3 separate regions of the Homo sapiens genome follow, and all the other regions are linked to region 3. Evidence: promoter capture Hi-C in human tissues and cell types (Jung and others, 2019). All regions are on one chromosome and are shown on one strand. Each heading gives the region's core, a stretch centred on a gene start or on the middle of the fragment in contact. The rest is flanking DNA. Distances are from core to core; before and after follow the strand shown. Region 1 overlaps NTMT1 (N-terminal Xaa-Pro-Lys N-methyltransferase 1). Region 2 holds the start of FNBP1 (formin binding protein 1). Region 3 holds the start of SPTAN1 (spectrin alpha, non-erythrocytic 1).

Evidence for each region. The method cuts DNA at HindIII sites, captures the fragments that hold promoters and counts their contacts. A contact is called where the count stands out against the background at its distance.
Region 1: a contact is called between a fragment that was not itself captured here and the fragment with the promoter of SPTAN1 in region 3, in 1 of the 25 tissues and cell types used here (hippocampus).
Region 2: a contact is called between the fragment with the promoter of FNBP1 here and the fragment with the promoter of SPTAN1 in region 3, in 1 of the 25 tissues and cell types used here (heart left ventricle).

What each region holds. Positions count from the first base shown.
Region 1 is chr9:129,629,568-129,632,670 of GRCh38, forward strand. It overlaps NTMT1 (N-terminal Xaa-Pro-Lys N-methyltransferase 1), which reads left to right. Exons shown (of 4, transcript NM_014064.4): 2 at 3,083-3,103. Among named protein-coding and RNA genes, the nearest start is that of NTMT1, 5.0 kb to the left of the region's middle. RefSeq lists an enhancer at 1,784-2,574. The HindIII fragment of the contact is 4,298 bases long and covers 1-3,103 here.
Region 2 is chr9:130,041,530-130,044,579 of GRCh38, forward strand. FNBP1 (formin binding protein 1) reads right to left here and starts at 1,660. Exons shown (of 17, transcript NM_015033.3): 1 at 1,423-1,660. The coding sequence starts at 1,446. RefSeq lists silencers at 1,023-1,182, 1,363-1,922. The HindIII fragment of the contact is 16,914 bases long and covers 1-3,050 here.
Region 3 is chr9:128,551,163-128,554,144 of GRCh38, forward strand. It overlaps SPTAN1 (spectrin alpha, non-erythrocytic 1), which reads left to right and starts at 1,425. Exons shown (of 57, transcript NM_001130438.3): 1 at 1,425-1,534. LOC101929270 (a long non-coding RNA gene) reads right to left here and starts at 1,251. Exons shown (of 4, transcript NR_188457.1): 1 at 1,206-1,251. RefSeq lists a silencer at 1,069-1,838. The HindIII fragment of the contact is 8,229 bases long and covers 1-2,982 here.

The DNA of each region.
Region 1 (3,103 bases), core at 377-2,876, 1.1 Mb after region 3:
TGGGCTTCTTTCTCCTTCCGGCAGTGTTGTTCCCAGTGCTGGGACACCAGTGTGGGAGCTTTGTGGTCAGCTTGCGGGGAGGGTGTTATGTGCAATATTTAGAACTAAGGTCCTCCCCAGCCTGTTACCCCAAAGGGCTCCCTGATTGGTGAAGTGACTGCTGCCTTTCTTCATTGTGGCTGAAACCCTTGTGCGTGAACAGTAAAGTGAGGGGTCAGTCTGCGAGCGGATTCAAGAATCTGAAGAGGGAAGCCAGGTGCAGTGGCGTGCGCCTGTAATCTCAGCTACTTGGGAGGCTGAGCAGGGAGGATGGCTTGAGCCCAGGAGTTTGGGGCCAGCCTGGGCCACATAGTAAGACCCCATCTCAAAAAAACAAGAATCTGAAGAGAAGTTTAAGCAGGCTTCTCTCTAGGCACAGCCAAAGGATTCTGCTAAGGGTGAGAAGACCCAATCACGGATCTAAGAAGAACCCCGTTGCATCTGTTAGAAGTATTCTTGAGCTGGCTGGGCGGGGTGGGCCTACTGCTTCTGGAAAGTTCCTTCTCTTTCAGGACAGGTTCAGAATATAGTAGTGCAGAATATAGTTCTGGGGCCAGTAACAAATTTGACCAATGAAAAATCTTGGCTGGGTGCAGTGGTTTCTGCCTGTAATCCCAACACCTTGGGAGGCTGAGGCAGGTGGATTGCTTGCAGCCAGGTGTTTGAGACCAGCCTGGGCAACGTGGCAAAACTCCATATCTACAGAAAATACAAAAGTTAGCCAGGTGTGGCGGTATGTGCCTGCAGTCCCAGCTACCCTGGAGGCTGAGATGGGAGGATCACCTGAGCTGTACTCAAGTCTGGCGACAGTGAGACCCTTTCTAAAAAAAAAGAAGAAAAAATTCTCCAGCTTGTCTTGTGTTTAGTTTCCCTTCTCTTTCCTCATAGTTGCTTCCCAAAGGCCTCGTGCTCCTTCTCAGGGCATTTTCCCGTTTCCCTCTGACCACTTCTCTTGAAGCCCCTAGAGTGTTCCTGGGTCTTAAGCTTTGAGTTGTGTTTGAGGACTGTACCCGAGTTCCATATGTGGACTCTTCCGTGTTGACCCTGTAGCTCCAGGAGTCAGGCAGACGGTCTTGGACCTACGATTTGTCAACTTTGGCGACAGGCATTTGCTAGAAGCCCCCTGCTCTCCTCGTGTGGAGGCAGCACGTGCGAGGCGGTGAGCTGCAGCTCCCAGTCAGCTGCGCGTTTTCCACCGAGGGTATTTTCCCTTTACCATGGGTTTATCAGGATGTAGCAGCTGCTGCTGCTGGGATTCCTACCACCCACTGTTGCTGTGTGTCCTCAGCACGGCCACTGCCATTCTCACTCTGCCTCCTTTAGGTTAGGCCTTGGCAGTGTGGGAAACACATCAGCCGAGAGTTGGTGCCCAGCATGCACTCGAGGCCACCCTCATCCAGGCCCCGTCTGCCTTTCCGAGCTCACCTTCCACAGTCTTCCCCCGCTCCACTCTCCGCCCTCTGATGGCCCATGCTGTCCCACGGCTGCTCCCTCTGTCTGCCCCACCCCCTCCAGCACTCCCTGTGCTTGGCTGCCCAGCTCGGGCTGCCTCCTCCAGGCGGCTGCCCCTATCTGCTGTTGGGAGGAGATTCCTCTGCCCTTTGAGTGTCCTCGACACTTTGTGGGTCCATGAGAATCCTTATTTTTCTGCTGTGTATTTTCTTTCCCTTTGTTCTTTGTCCTCCTGGACTAGAGCTCTCTGAGGTCTTGGCAAGCCTCACAGCAACTAGAACAGCCCCTAAGCGTGGTGTGCCTTGGTGACAGCACTGTGCCTTGGGAAGCTTATGGCAGAATGGCCACCCGTGGAGCACGGAGCCGCCCAACTGTCATCGCTGTCCTGAAGGGTGAGGTGGGCCTGGGCTCTGCTGCCAGGACCCAGCTGAGGCTTTCTAGTTCTCTCTCCTTCTACCGTGGCAACCGTCTCCTCATCCCCCTGCCATCTCCACCGCCGCCAGCAGTCTTCAGAAGCATCGGTCTTCCCGGGCCACTCTCTGTTGGGCCTCAGGGTGGTTGACTCATTGCTCTGTAGGATGCAGTCGAAACTGCTAGAGTTGACTGTGAGACCAGGAACTGGCAGCCGCGAGGGCTGTCTGTCCTTCCCTCCAGGAGCAGTGCCGTCGCCCTCCACCTACTGCGCTTATTCTTGCCCATCCATCGGTTTCAGCTTACGCGTCCCCTCCTCAGGGATGCCTTCCCTGGTCCCCGCACCCGACTCCACTTCCTCCCTCCGTGCTCTGCTGGCACTGGCGCTTCTCCTCTGCAGCCCTCCCTGCAGGTGTGGTTGTGTCTGTAGAATTGTTTTCTGCCTGGCTGGCTGCCTGGTTCACAGCCCGGTGCCTGGCACAGAGTCCCCACTCCTTGTTAACGGAGGACTGGACCCCACCGTGAGTTGTTGCTGTGCTCTGAGCCAGAGGAAGGGAGGCGTGGAAGCTTCCCTGGCCCTCCAGGGTCTGCTGGTGCTCTCGGCTTTGCGGTCGTTTCTCTTTATTGATCAGGGTTTTCTGTGCCCTGAAGCCACTGAGTCAGGTGTCATATAGAGCATATCAAGAACTTGAAGCCAGGCCAGGCACATGGGCTCACACCCGTAATCCCAGCACTTTGGGAGGCCAAGGTGGGAGAATCTCTTGAGGTCAGGACTTCAAGACCAACCTTTGTAACATAGTGAGACCCCATCTCTACAAAAAATAATTAGCCAGGCATGGTGGCACACAACTGTAGTCCTAGCTGCTCCGGAGGGTGAGGTGGGAGGGTCTCTTGAGCTCGGGAGTTGGAGGCTGCATTGAGCTATGATCACACCACTGCACTCCAGAAAAAATAAAAATGTAAAAGAACTTGAAGCCAGGACTTGGGGCGGGTGCTCTGAGTGCAAAAGACAGAAGATGCTGTTATCCAAGGGGTAGAAGCAGATTTGGGGACCCTGGACTTCTCTCTGCACTCAGCAGGATGTGTGACTTGTGAAGCCTGGTGTGAGACTGGCCCTCTGCCCTGGGGGCCTTTCTGCCAGGTCCCTGGCCCGCTGACTCACGCCCCCTTCCTTACCCAGGAGAGTCGCGGTTGCTGATCG
Region 2 (3,050 bases), core at 410-2,909, 1.5 Mb after region 3:
GTACTCAAAGTCATAGATTTTGCCTAAACTGGTGTGTGCAAATATTTTAAACTATTTTATTTTCAAAATGGATACTTGTAAACATCAGCGGAAATTTTGTCATGAATCCCTTTTAGGCAGAAGATGTTTATAAAATGAATTATCTTAATTTAAGGGAGCTATTGCCCTCAGGATTTTGGTAATAACAACCGTAGCTGCTTCTGTACCTAACAAATGGTTATGTAAAAACAATTAAAGCAAAAGAAAACAAAACAAAAAACAAGGGAGGATGTGCTCTGTTTCTGTAATTGCTCTAACCTTGTTTTATTTTGATATGAGATTTCTTGGCCTCATCTCAGATAGCAACACCACCCTACACTTTCTCCTCCACACCCTTTGCAAATAGAATTCCAAAAGGTAGTTCAGGCACTTTAGAGTTCATCCTGGGAAATGGCTCATCTTGAGGGCATTTCAGTGCAGTAACTGAGATTTCGTCTGCTCCTTCCCGGGCCGCCGCACTGCCCATCCCCTGCCCAGTGATTTCCCCAGGAATCCGGGGACGGCAGGAAAAGAGCTCCATCCACAGCCAGCCCCTCGCCTTTCCGGGGACGGCCCTCAGCCCTGAGGGCTGCCCGTTTACCGTGCGCATCCCCCGGCCAAGCATCCCCGCAAGGCGCCCCTCACCGCCAACTTTCCCCACTGGAAACTATTCTCCGAGCAACCGTTAAAGATCATTGACCCCGCGAACGCCTCTTCCTGAGGTAGATCACGTAAGATCTCTCCCTAACTCCCACTTTCCCCTCCAGACCAGACGTCGCAGTGCCCACATCCCACTCAGGATTGAGCTACCCCGAAAGAACAAGTGCGCCCGGAGCCGCCACGGGCCAGAAGTCCTCGCCTCCAGAGCGAAGACCGCACTCTCGCCCCAGCACCCCAAAACCCGACCCCCGGCGCTCGCCCCGGCCGCCCCGCTCCCGGGGAAGTGCCCGATCCGCCAGCGCCTCCGCGGAGCCAGGACAGAACTCGCGGCCGGGGCGCCCCGAGACCCAACGCAGCGCCGCGCAGCCGGGGCCTCCACGCCCCCACGCCCGGTCCCGGCCCTCCCCGGGCATCCGCGGCTCGCCCCGGGGGATTAGGGCTCGGCCCGACACACACGGCCCGCTCCGGGGCGCCGGGGACAGGGAGGCCCGCCCGCGCCGTTCCTCAGGCCGCCGGGGACCCGCACCAACTCCCCTCGCCTCCGAAGGACAAGCCGGCCCGCACCTCCTGCTCGGGCCAAGGCGGACGAGGGGCATTGGAACCCCGCCTCCTCCCCAGGCCGCGAGGACCCCGACCAGCGCGCCCTCGCCTCCGCCCAGCAGCGCGGCCCGCGCCCCCTCCCCAGGCCGCGGGGAAACGCAGCGCGCGCCCCGCATCTGCCCGCGGGCCCAGCCCCTCACTCACCCAGAGCTCGGTGCCCCAGCTCATGGTGCAGGGGACGCGAAGGGGCGCTCCGCGCGGCGGGCGCGGCTCTCTGGTCCCCCTCCCCGGCGATCCCTTTGCCCCCCGAGATCCCCGCGACGGCGGAAAGCCCGGAGTCCGCGCGGCCTCCTCCGGCTCGCAGCTCCTCGCCCGGGGTCTCCTCGGCGGCTCCTCCTCCCCGCCGCTCCACAGCAAAATGGCCCGAGGAAGCAGCAGCCGCGGCCGCCGCAGCGCCCGCCCGCCCTACACCCGGAGAGCGGGGGAGGGGCGGGAGGGGAGGGGCGGGGCCGGTCTGACAGCTCGCGCACGCGCGCCCGCCCCACCCCGGCCCGGCCCCCTCCCCCGGGCTCCCCCGGCCGGGTCCGCGTCGCCCTGGGGTCCGGAAGGACGCGGAGGGAGGTGTGAGGGACGGCGGGACCCGGATCCCTAGGACTCCCCCTGCCAATCTGGTAATGACTTCTTAGTGACCACTGTCTGCTCGCAGTACTAGCGCTTGCCTTGGAACGCGGCAGGCCCTGGGATCACCGATGCTCCGCCGCGGTCTGAGATCGCTCCCCTGCGCGTATCGCCGCTCTGGATTTAAGGACAATACTTTCCCCTGGCAGCCATGCGCGCCGAGCAGAGTCAGCCCGGGAGGCTCTTTTCCCACCGCCCGAGGGAAGCCCGAGAGTCCCGCAGGCTGGCGCGGTGGGAGTGGGGCGGTGGTAACTGCGCGCTGTGCGAATAGAGACGTCGAGGCAAGCGCGACGGCCTCGAGTGGCTAGGGAAAGAATCCAGGGGCGTGCACCCAGTGATTTCCAATCTCTGAAACCAGTGATTTCCAACTTGTTCAGCCAAGAAACTCTCAGGCGTGAAATCACGTTACCGCCTAGTGGGTAAAAGCAAAGGCGTGGGGTACACAGATAACTTGTTTGGTTCAAATCCAGCCTCCCGCACGTGCTGGCCGGGCGGAGGCGGACAATTGCTCCACCTCTGGAAGCGCAGAGCGCAGTCCACCAAATGGAGGCAAATAACGTGTCCATCTCACTGCCCGGCGGTGAGGATCAGGGGTGGGCCAAGGCCGAAGGTTGGTAAACCCAGCGCTCATTTTATCAGCAGACGGACTCCCTCTCTATATATCCAAAGGTCTGCACAAATGTTCCTGACAAGCTATGGAAAATGTTTGGAATTCCAACTCCTGAATCACTAGCCCTTTCCCCACAGCTTATCTTTCTCCCTCGGTTAATGCTACTACTGGATCCTTTTCTGAGAAACCGTGCGACTCCCAACATGGGCCCCCAGTTAAAAAATATTTTACGATGATGCATTTCTCCAATCCCACCCCACCATTTTCAACCTGCTTATCATTCTCCTCCATTAAAAGGTGGAGCTAACCCGGGTCTGGTGGCTCACGCCTGTAATCCCAGCACATCAGGAGGCCCAGGTGGGAGGATGGCTGGAGGCCAGGAATTTGAGACCAGCCTGGGCAACATCGCAAGACCCTGTCTCTACAAAAAGAAAAAAAAAAAAGTTAGCTGGGCATGGTGGCATGCACCTGTGGTCCCAGCTACTTGGGAGACTGAGACAGGAGGATCGCTTGAGCCTAGAAGGTTGAAGTTGCAGTGAGCCAT
Region 3 (2,982 bases), core at 175-2,674:
AGAGCTGCTTGGTAACCAGGAGGCTGAAGCCTTCCTAAGCTGCAGAGCTCCCCGTCTGCCTGACTGCACAGGAATGATCTGGGTGTTACTCCCAGTGGCTGCGGCCCAGCTGTCACCGGAATGGGGATAGGGAAAGGGCTTCCTAATCCAGGGCTTCTGGCTACAGAGTTTAGAGCCAGGACCTTAAACTGCTAGGACTTTAAGTATCAGAAATTCTGAGAATCTTATTTTTCTCTTTCTGCACCCCAGCAGCCACCCGCATCAAAATGCCTCCCTTTCCTATTTGAAGGCAATACACATACGGTTGCAAAGGGAAGGTTCTGACTGCTGAGATGTAAATCCTAGCTCTTCCAATTGGTAGCTGCCTGACCTGGGCCAAGAGACTTAGCCTACATGAGCATTATGTAAGAGTGCCCATTTGTAAAATGGGAAAACATCTCATAAAATTATTGCAAAGATTAAGAAATGAAAAGGTAACACGAAATACTTAGCATAGTGCCTAGTACACAAGGCAAGTTCGATTAATTGTGCCAGAAAGAACCTTAATGTCTTGTTTATGAAATAGGATGAATGTAGCCTATTCCACTGGCGACCTGTGAGAAAGCTTTTGTTGCAGGAATGTAAGAAATTATTATTTTGCCGCTGCCGTTTCCTCCCCCATAATCTCCAAGAACATAAGAAATTAACTCTCCAAATCCCAGAATGACAGCTTTATGCCCCAAATTAGTCGACTTAATTTTTTTTCTGATTCGGATTTGGCCTTTTCCTCTCACCACCTCCTCAAACCCGGGGCCCCAAATCATCCGCGTCTTCTTGACCCCAGCCCCCACCGAATTAGGCTGACTTGGGACCCCAGCGCCAGCCTCCTCCTCGGGAAAGTGAGCAGGAAGAGACGCACTCGGGTGATCTCACCCTTTGGGACTGGGCGTTTTTCCGGCCGGGGCGCGCAGCATCCCCAGCCAGACTGCAGCGATACCCCCGCCCCGCCCTTCTCCGCAGTCCTGGAAGAGCTCCCAGGGCGGAGTGGTGCGATGCAGACGACTGTCCGCAGGGCGGGCGGTGGCGGGGCGCAAGCTGCGGGGAGGGAGGTGAGGCGGGAGCGTCTCTACCGCCAGGGCGTAGGCAGTGACCTCACTGCACCATCACCCCTCACCCCTTGCGCGCGCCCCATTTCCCCATCCTCCCGCGGCCCGCCCCTCGCTCACCTCTTCCCCCGCATTGTCGCTTCGGCTCCTTCCGGGATCGCTCGGCCCTTTCCGCCGGGCGGTCGGGCGGCGAGCCGGCGGGAGCACCGCCCCCTTTGCTCCGCCGGCGCGCTCCCCCACCCCTCGCGCAGCGCCGGGGCGCTTCCCCCGGCGCTCGCGCCCGCCCGCCGCGGGAGCGCGCGTAGCCGCTTATAAAAGAGGCGGGGCGCGCGCGTCGCCGCCACTACCCGCTGCGGAGTGAACGGTGTGGAGCGGAGGCCGCGGAGGCTCCTCGGTCCTTCAGCACCCCTCGGCCCGACGCACCCACGCCCCTCACCCCCCGAGAGCCGGTGAGAGGGGCAGCCGGGGAGCTCCGGGAGGGAGCGGGGCCCCGGGCAGCCGACCCCCGGGTGGGAGCTGGGCAGCTCTTCAGGCGGGGCGGGGCCGGCGCGCGGACAGGTGAGCCGGGCGGGCCGCGGGGCTGCCTCCATTCGGCTGAGTGGGGGAAGCCGCTGCCGCTGCTTTTGTGGCGCGTGGGCTGCGGAGGAGCAGCCGGGCCGAGGCTCGGCGCCGCCGCTGGAATGTCACTGACGGGGGGAGGGGGCGCGAGGCCGCCGGGTCCCTCCCAACCACCCCCAAGCCTGGCTGCGGCGCGGCCCTGCCCTGCCCCATCCGGCTGCGGCAGGTGGGTGGGGGCTCCCTCGTCGGGATCTTCGCCAGCCGCCTCCCTGCAGAACGCTCCCCGCACCGCCCCCGGTCCCTTCCCTCGGCCGGGAGCGACTTCTGCAGCTCGTTCTTCCGAATCGCACCAGCAATGCCGGCCAGCCGTAGAGGGAGGAAGAGCCCGGGGAGCCCGAGCATAGCGTAAACGGCTCTCTGACCTTAATTTCATCCTGCATGGCGAATCTCTGCCGTCTCTCTGAACGCAGAAGGGTCTGAGACTGGCCGTCTCCTTTTCTTTCCTTGTAATAAACATTTTTCTTTCTTCCTAGTTGTGATTTGCTTGTAAATAATAGGTAAATGCAGTGCTTGCATGGTATGTGGCTCAAATCAAATAACTTAATAGCTTAGCGTTCTTGTTTGTGTGTGTGTTTCCTGGGACTGGGTCTTTCGAGTCGAGATACAGTGTCAAAAATTCTACCATACCACTGTTGAATGATAGAACAGTCTTTTGTTTGAAAGCTGTCCCTGAGAATTTGATTAGACGCTTCCCCTAGAACATCGCTTTCAAAAGTCTCTGATGTACTAGAGTAAAATATATTTTAAATAAGCGCCTTGTTAAAAGTTGAATATGTTTTAAATGAAAAGCCTAAATAGCTCAGAAAGCTGGGTTGAGATGATGCTTGAACTGTTCCAACATCTAATCAGATCTCTTTTATATAATAGATCCTAAAATATTTAAGCCCTTTGTTCTGTCTTCATCATGTTATTTTAGAAAAACTTACCATCATGGCTGTTCGGGAAGAACAGGAGAGAGGCCATATGAAGTATTTTCATAATGTGTTGAGAAATTGCGTCGTCATAGCAATTGGCCTTAAGTAAAACAGAATGTATCAAAGATGGAAGGGTGGGGGTGTCTTGGAGCCAGGAAACAGAAAATCTTGGAAATAGCAGGAGGAACACTCAGCTATATGAAGCCATTGAGTCAAGGTTCCGACTCCTTAACTAGTCGTTTATTTTCCCTTTCATTGCAGCTAACTAATGTCTTAGATTTTGAAAGGTCAAATTGAATGTGCTGCGGAGGAAAAAAAAAGTGCTGCAGTAAAGGCCTCTGTGCAGGAAATTAACAATAAGCCTT